Regions from separate parts of the Homo sapiens genome. Here regions 1 and 2 are each linked to region 3. The links are contacts of gene promoters, found by promoter capture Hi-C in human tissues and cell types (Jung and others, 2019). All regions are on one chromosome and are shown on one strand. The core of a region is centred on a gene start or on the middle of the fragment in contact, and the rest is flanking DNA. Distances in the headings are between cores, read along the strand shown. Region 1 overlaps LINC02237 (long intergenic non-protein coding RNA 2237). Region 2 overlaps CSMD3 (CUB and Sushi multiple domains 3). Region 3 holds the start of CSMD3 (CUB and Sushi multiple domains 3).

Region 1 (2,700 bases), core at 87-2,586, 2.0 Mb after region 3:
GCAAGCAGGATTAGCTCTTTGCCAGCAGTAAAGACCTTCTTAGCTTTAGCAATGCAGTTAGCCCCTAAGAATGATGCTCTCAGTACAGACACATTTGATGAAGTGGTGGCCTTCATTGCTTCTGTTCTTCATGTTCACAACTTTTTTTTTCTTTTGAAAAACTCCTAAGTCTTGTCTTTTAATAGAGGGTGCTTGGTTTCCATGTGGTGAAGAAGTTTTGAGAGTTTAATGGCTTCATTAAATAACTGCTCATCACATATTATACAAAGCAGGTTTACAGAATATGAATCACCTTTTTCAATGAATCCACAATTTAAGTAGGACACTTGGTATTTTCTTTTAAATTCAGCTGTATTTTTGTTGTCAGCCGTAGAGTTTTCTGCTGTCTCATCATTGTGTCTTTTCCTCTTTTCAAAGAAACTCTCCAGTGACATTTGCTTTTACTCATTTTGGCTAGGGTTAGCTTGTGGGCTTACCCAAACTGTGGCTGAGACAAGTGCACAGTAAAGGAAAGAGGCATGAACAGAAGTGGTAAATAAAATAATGGGCAACCCATGCATGGACTAGAATAAGTGTCAGATTCTGACTTAAAGCCTGCCACCAGATGCAGCTGTACAATTGAAGTACATCAACTCAAGTGCCACTATAAAGCCAGCCACCAGATGCAGCTTAATTGTCATTTGCCATTCACTGATAGGGTTTTGATATGAATCTGCAAGCATTTGATTTGTATGTTCTCTGTGCAGTCAAACATCTCTGCTAATGTTAATCTGTATTTGTAGTCTCTCCCCAGTGCTAGCATTACGTCCTCAGCTCCACTTCACATCATCAGGCATTAGATTCTCATAAAGAGCATGCAACCCAGATCCCTCACATGTGCAGTCCACAATAGGATTTGCAGGCCTATGAGAATCTAATGACACAGCTGATCTGATAGGAGGCCGAACTCAGGTGGTAATGGTTGTGATGGGGAGTGGTTTTAAATACAGATGAAGCTTTGTTCGCATGCTGGCTACTTGCCTTCTACTGTGAGGCCCGTTTCCCAACAGGCTATGGACCAGTACTTGTCTGTGGCCGGGGGTTAGGGACCCCTGAAATACAGTATTTGACAAACTTACTGACTTAATAACATGACTTAAGTAAACAGTCTTCTACCTTGTTTAATGTATAAATATCTTCCAAGTATAAAAGCATGTGAGAAAATGCCTATTATTTAAATAGACAAGCAAAGGATAGCAACTATTTTGATAATGCCATGAATCTAATTTTTCTTCGAATGACTTCTCATCACAGACAATCCATTAAAATAGAAAGATAACAAAATTTAGAAACATATCTATGTCTTGCTCTGCACATACAAAGAACATCTGGCCATAGACCAGACAATTTAGCACTTTGACTTAGTGGTTAATTTTGATTCACTCTAAGGCCAGTCTTTACTAAATTTAAATAACAAAGTACATAAATAAATGCAAATGCAGTATTAAGCTATTCTTCATTAAAGAGAAAAGATACATGATCTATTACAAAACAACAATATGTAGATTACATTCAGAGTCTGCAGAGAACTGATCCCTCTAGATGTTCAGCATTTCCATAGCTTGTCAGAAGCCACGGATACTTTCATATAGACTCTGGTACCGTCTCTTAGAGCCCATTACTTTTTGAGAAAAGAAACTCTAACACTGAATTCTGTTTTTCAGTTTTCTCCTCTAAAGCCATCTCTTTTCTATAACTACGCCAGGGTCCTGCTGTTTCTCCTCAGCCTATACATGAAGTTGTCAATCATTCTGTTCCAACATATTACAATCTTTGAAGCTGTAGGTCAGGAATTTAAGATGAGAAAGAGCAGCTATTTGTTGGAGCCCTCAAAGCCGCTGCCAAATGTTTCTCTGTTCCTGTGTTTCTGAATTGAATTCCATTAATAGGTGTTGTTCTGCTTTATTTTCTTGGATATGTGTTGAACCCCACGAGGGGAATAAATTAGGGAAAAAAAGCATAATTTCAGGAGAAAAAAATTGCGCACTATGTCATTTATATCAATCAAATTAGGAAGTGTATAATAAAGCATCCATTTCTGGTTCTTGAGAGTTTGCCTCTCATTATGGTTAATTTTATTTGTCAACTTGACTGGGTCAGAGTTTCCAGATATTTGGTCAAACATTATTTTAGATAATTTCATGTTTTATGAAATGGGGATGGGTAGACTTCGAATAAAATAGTTTACCTTTCATAAGCAGTCTCATCTGATCAGTTGACAGCCTAGAAAAAAATGGACCTCCCTGAAAGAAAAGGGGTTTCTGCCAGCTGATTGCCTTTGAAATGCATGTCTTTTCTGGGTCTCCATCCTACTAGCCTACTCTACAGATTTTGGACTTGCCAAGCATCCACAATCACATAAGCCAACTTCTTAAAATCAATCTCTTTCTCTCTCTCTCTCTCTCTCTCTCTTTCTCTTGTGTGTGTATGTATGTGAGACAGAGACATTGATTGATTTTGAGAGATAGATTGATGTATATGTAGATACACTTCAGATGTATATACATTTTTAGAATTTCCTAAGTAATAACAGTGTCTTTTTTTTTGATGATGGAGTCCTCATTATGCTAATTAGGTGTTTATGATGAGACCCTAGATAGCTTATACTAATCATATGACTCAGGACATGTGCCAATCATGCCACAAAGACCAATAACATAA
Region 2 (2,700 bases), core at 197-2,696, 1.0 Mb after region 3:
ACAGGAAGCCATCAATCACAAGTGAACTGAACTAAATATCCTCATTTTTGTTATTTCTTTAAAGTAACTTGTGGTAGCTCAATTTATATTTAAGGAAGCTCTGTCAGATATGATTGATATTTGCTTAAATAATATTGACTACTTGTGGGTAAAAACAAATAAAATGAAAAAGGAGAGCCATGCTGACACAATACTTTTGAACACCTGGTATTTGAAATGATTGCAAGGTATCACGATTACCTGAAAAGAGTGAAAACATTGTCTTAGCATTTCTGATTTTATTTTTTGTACATAATTGGAGTTTCCACATTCATTGCACAAAGGTGTTGTTAGTGCCAGGGAAGTAGTTACTGGAATACACGAATAATCTAAAGTAGTGAAGGAAAAATATATGTAAGTCAGAATTTCAAAATAGTGCAATAATTTATATGACCAGAATAAGCAGTGCATACAATGGAAAAGTATTTGAGCAAACCTTAATCAGATAAATTCTGAGGTAATGATAGTATCTGGTGATAGCTCACCAGAGCTGAGTCTTCAAAGATGAATAGACATTAGCTAAGAAGATCAGATAGTCTAGCATAAGCAAAGTCAGAGAAGTGGGAGAAAAATCACAATTAGGAGATGCTCTTGGGGGTATCAATCTGTGAAGTCTGGCTTCATGGGTTTCAGGAAGAAGAGTCACAGAGTGGCCAGGCATTCCTTACCAAATGGAATAATTCAGTTGTTTCAGCTTTTCTTACTTAACAGTAAAATAATTAAACATGACTATGTTTATATTTAGTTGCTTTGATGAAATGAATTGTTTCCAAAAAATATAGAAGGTTCACAATCAATACCAACTACCTATTAAAATGTGCTTAAAAAAAAGTTTTCACCCTCACTCCCCACCCCCTGCACACACACTCAAATTCACCAATGGAATTTTATCTTATTTTATTTGTTGTCCTTGACACACTAGAATTAAGCTAAACAATCATTTTCAGAGTAAAGTTTTAATGATTTGAAACTATTGCAGCTCACTTTTTTTATGTCTCCAGCTCCATTTTACTATGTATTTGTGCATTCAGACAGTATATGATGGAACAGTAATTGTAAGACAAAGAAATAGAACTTGACTTATTTCAGTGATGGAATTCTATGTAACCACTTGTATTTTTTGTTTCTGCTTAAAATTTAGAAGACTAAAATAGAGTCCAAACTTCAGTGTGTGTTTCTTCCCATTAAAAAAATACACTTATGTAACGAATGTATGACTTCATCTTTTTTTTGGTACTTTAATATTTGTTTTCTTATTTTGAGATTTTTTTACTACTATTTTAACACACACACAGAGTTTAATAATAGAAAATTTTCACAGTCTATATTTATTTTCTGGCCAGTATTATTAATTCATTTGTGATTATTCATGAAAATAGTTTTACCACAGTGGGGAATGTTAAAAAATTATCTAATCTGACTGTCAATATGCTTGGTATGGAATTGTTTATAACAGTGCTTGAAAGTGAGTAGCTATTAATTCAAGAGGCACTGGATATGAATGTTAGCAGCATAAGTCTCCCTTGGGGTAGCTGGGGGCCTGTTTCCTCATCCTCAAAATATGCATAAGAATACCTACTACTCAAGTTATTACAAGTAAAATCTGAGACAATACAGATTAAACTCCTCACAGATAAGTGAGTACAGCAAATATAGCCATGCAAGAAAGACAATAGGCTTCCTTTAGATTTGTTCTTAAGACTCCTTCTCACCCTCCACTGACTTTGAGTTGCTGAATCTATAAATTAAGTCCAAATTAACATGAAAAAAATTGGGGTTCACAATTTGAAGTCAGAATATTTACCATTTAAAATTAGAATATAACCTTCTAGATATCTTTCAAAACATTAGTTAGCCACATGACTCTTTCACAAAGCTTTTCAGGATGTCTTATCTATTTTGGAATATCATAGTATGTAAAATAAATGATAATGATCCTATTTACATGAGGCTTTTTGATTAATGGTTATTACTAGTTGGGTTCCAGCATCATTTAACTGTAAAGAATTTTTAACAACTAACAACTGAGAAGTAAAATGTAGTTACTTATTCAGAATAACTGATATTTAAGAAACATTTAAACAACATTCTTACTAAATAAAAAATAGGTCAAGCGCGGTGGCTCATGCCTGTAATCCCAGCACTTTGAGAGGCTGAGGTGGGCAGACCGCAAGGTCGAGAGATAGAGACCCTCCTGGCCAACATGGTGAAACCCCGTCTCTACTGAAAATACAAAAATTAGCTGGGCATTGTGGCACATGCCTGTGGTCCCAGCTACTCGGGAGGTTGAGGCAGGAGAACTGCTTGAACCTGGTAGGTGGAGGTTGCAGTGAGCCGAGATCACGCCACTGTACTCCAGCCTAGTGACAGAGTGAGACTCCGCCTCAAATAAATAAATAAATAAATAAGTAAGTAAAATAAAATAAAATAGAAGAATGGGAACATGAAAAGAAGAAAAAATGTTCTGATCCTAATTTGGATCAAGCTATGACATAGTTAGGGAAACTGAATAATTTTAGGGAATTACCTATCTTATTCTTGGTCTCTAGTGAGAGTCTTAACAAACCTTGAGAATAAGGTTTAATTCATTGTTTTAAAAAGATCCATTTGTGTTTTGAAGTGAGTTACCATGGCTTTGTAAACCATTGAAGACCAAAACAT
Region 3 (2,700 bases), core at 197-2,696:
ACTTCCCAGAGCGGAACTCCTTCCAGATTCTAACGCCTTCCTCTGCTGAGCGGGCAGCTCCAACGCGAGCCAAGGGACAAAGCTGGCCAGGGTAATGCTGTGGTGCACGGGACCAAACCCATTATTTGTGCACAGTGCAGGGAGCTGCAAACTCAAGTTGGGCAGTCCTCTAGACTAAGCCTTGTTGATAGACGCTCACGCCCATGATAGCCTGAGGCAGTTAAATGGAGCCACACGCAACAGCAATATCCTGTTTCAGAACTAGCGCTGTGGCACTCCCCACTGCTGAGAGGGGACCAGATTCCCGAAAAGGTCAGATCACCAATCAGTTGCCTAATCTAAGGAACTTGTTCATTGAAAGATTTGGGCCAGGACCGTGGTCGAAAAAAATCAAGGAGCACGACATACTGGTCCCGGGGACACAGCTCCCCTGACACCAAGGGATGGCAAAAACAGGGTCCCTTATACATGCGAAGGAAGAACGGGCGGCTCGGAGACGGCCAGTAGATGGCGCAAGAACTCTTCCCTTGTGCAATCTTAACCCTTGCGTGGTGCATGGGGGAAGCAGATCCAGATGTATAGATACATACATTTTTCGTTTTGAAAGAAACCTCCTATTTACATATTTGGTACCGATTCAGAATTAAGACAAATGGGTTTGTTCTAGATAACTACCACAGATAAAGTAGTTTAACTGCGGCACACACAAACTGAAAAGGGGGTTGGGAGGATGAAAGGGAGAACTATTTGAGGAAACGACATTGACTTCCCTCCCCACCCCACCCCCGCCCAGGCCACGGATGAAATCCGTTTCCCGAATCATAAAAACCCGGTGAAGGGTTTACACGTAGTTATTTGAGTATGTAAATACATGTGTTCAAATACATTCTTTTCCGTGTGAAGGCAGAATTTATTGAGAAAATTCTCTGTGATTTCCTTTTTCAATTAAATCACAGGATAATAAATGGGAGAAGCCTGCCTGAAATATACTGCAACTACAGTAGTAACACATGTCCCATTATAACGACGTGGGCATCGATGGAGCCCGATTCATTATCGTCACGGTTTCCCCAAAAGCAACACAGATCCTCCGATTAAAATATTCCTTTGACATGCTTCTGTATTCGCAGCCTGCAACGGAGAGCTCACTAACATTATTTCTTGGGCTGCTTTTACAGGCAGAATTGATCTATTCGGGGAAAAAAAGCAAGCCCCTTAATTTCAAATATTGTGTGGAGTTTATCAGAGAGCAGAGGTGGGCTTTAAGAGGCTCACTAGTGGTTTCTGGTGGTTGCTATAACGAGCCAGAATTGGGGTAGATTTTGGTGGAGGGGAAAAAACGCACAAGAAAAGACAGAATCCAGAGTAGCGGAGACTTTGTGCCCCCGTTGGAGAGATGGTTGAGTCCTCGTCAAGGTTGCTGTGGTATCCCAGAAACACCATTCACTCCGAGCTGTGACCGCGCACCAACAACAGCAACAACTCCACTGCGCCGGGCTGAGGAGCAGGAATTAGGAGCTCGCGAATAATATGAAAGGGATCCGCAAAGGGGAAAGCCGAGCAAAGGAATCCAAACCCTGGGAGCCTGGCAAGCGAAGATGCGCTAAATGTGGCCGCCTAGACTTCATCCTGATGAAGAAAATGGGGATTAAAAGTGGATTTACGTTTTGGAACCTCGTCTTTTTATTGACGGTGTCTTGTGTGAAAGGTAGGTCTGCTTTGGGGGTCCCCTCCGCTTTGGATGGAGGTGGGCTGACTTGTAGATGGAGAGAGGCTGGCAGCTTACTTTGCAATTTGCACCGATAAAATAATCTGATAATACTAAAGGAGTTGATTCACAGCTCGTTCTCCCCCCCTCAGATAGGAAATGCATTTTGCTTGCCAGATTTGGCGTTCAATGCGGTGATTGAGCTTGTGCTCAATAAATATTCTTGCAGTATGCTCAAACGAATACGTGAGTTGGTTAGTATAGCCTCTAACTAGTGGATATCCAGGCAGAATTCCTCTGCAAGACTTTTCTTAGTGGTGAGGATTACCTTGATTTCTTGTCAGATCACTAGGGCTTGAGGCTTTGGGTGGAATATATATATTAAAGACGCTGGTCTAAATGCTTTTTAACCCTTTCAGGGAAGAAAGTTATCGACGTGCTAGGAATGTGTTGATTTTAAATGCATTAGGGCACAGGGATCTTCCAAGCACTGCCACATCAACATGAATGTCTGCATGCATATGTATGTAAATTGGGCTTCTATGCAATGTTAAATGTAGGGGAGCTTCCCTAGGACCTGTGGTAGAGGTTTGGCAAAAAATGAGGCTTTCGAAGGGTCTGAAATGCCATGAAGTGTAAAGAACCACCTTAAGGGATGAATGAGGTAGGAGGAAAGTCATTAGCTGACGACCAAAAGAAAATCCCCAGCAAGTCTCAGCGTTCAGACAGGTAGAGTGAGTGTCACATGCACAGATAGGGGAGGGGGTAGGTGGGATGTAAAAATGTATTCCCAAGCAGGAAGGCAAGGGACAGTCAGGATCATGGGAAAAAGAGCTGTCCTTAGGGAGAAAATAGATCCATAGCTCTCTTCCACAACTTCTCCGGCACCCTGCTGCCCATTAATTGCTGCAAAGAATACTCAGGAGGTGTTTATGACTCATGCCATCATTTTTTGAACAATCACCTCTCCATACTCATGGCAGCTCGAATAG

What was found. Contacts are between HindIII fragments. The study calls those that stand out against the background at their distance.
Region 1: a fragment that was not itself captured here is called in contact with the fragment with the promoter of CSMD3 in region 3 in 1 of the 25 tissues and cell types used here (dorsolateral prefrontal cortex).
Region 2: a fragment that was not itself captured here is called in contact with the fragment with the promoter of CSMD3 in region 3 in 1 of the 25 tissues and cell types used here (dorsolateral prefrontal cortex).

The regions. Positions count from the first base shown.
Region 1 is chr8:111,450,110-111,452,809 of GRCh38, reverse strand. The region is part of intron 2 of LINC02237 (long intergenic non-protein coding RNA 2237); the gene reads right to left. Among named protein-coding and RNA genes, the nearest start is that of LINC02237, 75 kb to the right of the region's middle. The HindIII fragment of the contact is 3,906 bases long and covers 1-2,700 here.
Region 2 is chr8:112,424,436-112,427,135 of GRCh38, reverse strand. The region is part of intron 32 of CSMD3 (CUB and Sushi multiple domains 3); the gene reads left to right. Among named protein-coding and RNA genes, the nearest start is that of MIR2053, 220 kb to the left of the region's middle. The HindIII fragment of the contact is 4,996 bases long and covers 1-2,700 here.
Region 3 is chr8:113,435,685-113,438,384 of GRCh38, reverse strand. It overlaps CSMD3 (CUB and Sushi multiple domains 3), which reads left to right and starts at 1,446. Exons shown (of 71, transcript NM_198123.2): 1 at 1,446-1,708. The coding sequence starts at 1,531. RefSeq lists enhancers at 12-512, 525-574, 2,352-2,700. The HindIII fragment of the contact is 9,532 bases long and covers 1-2,700 here.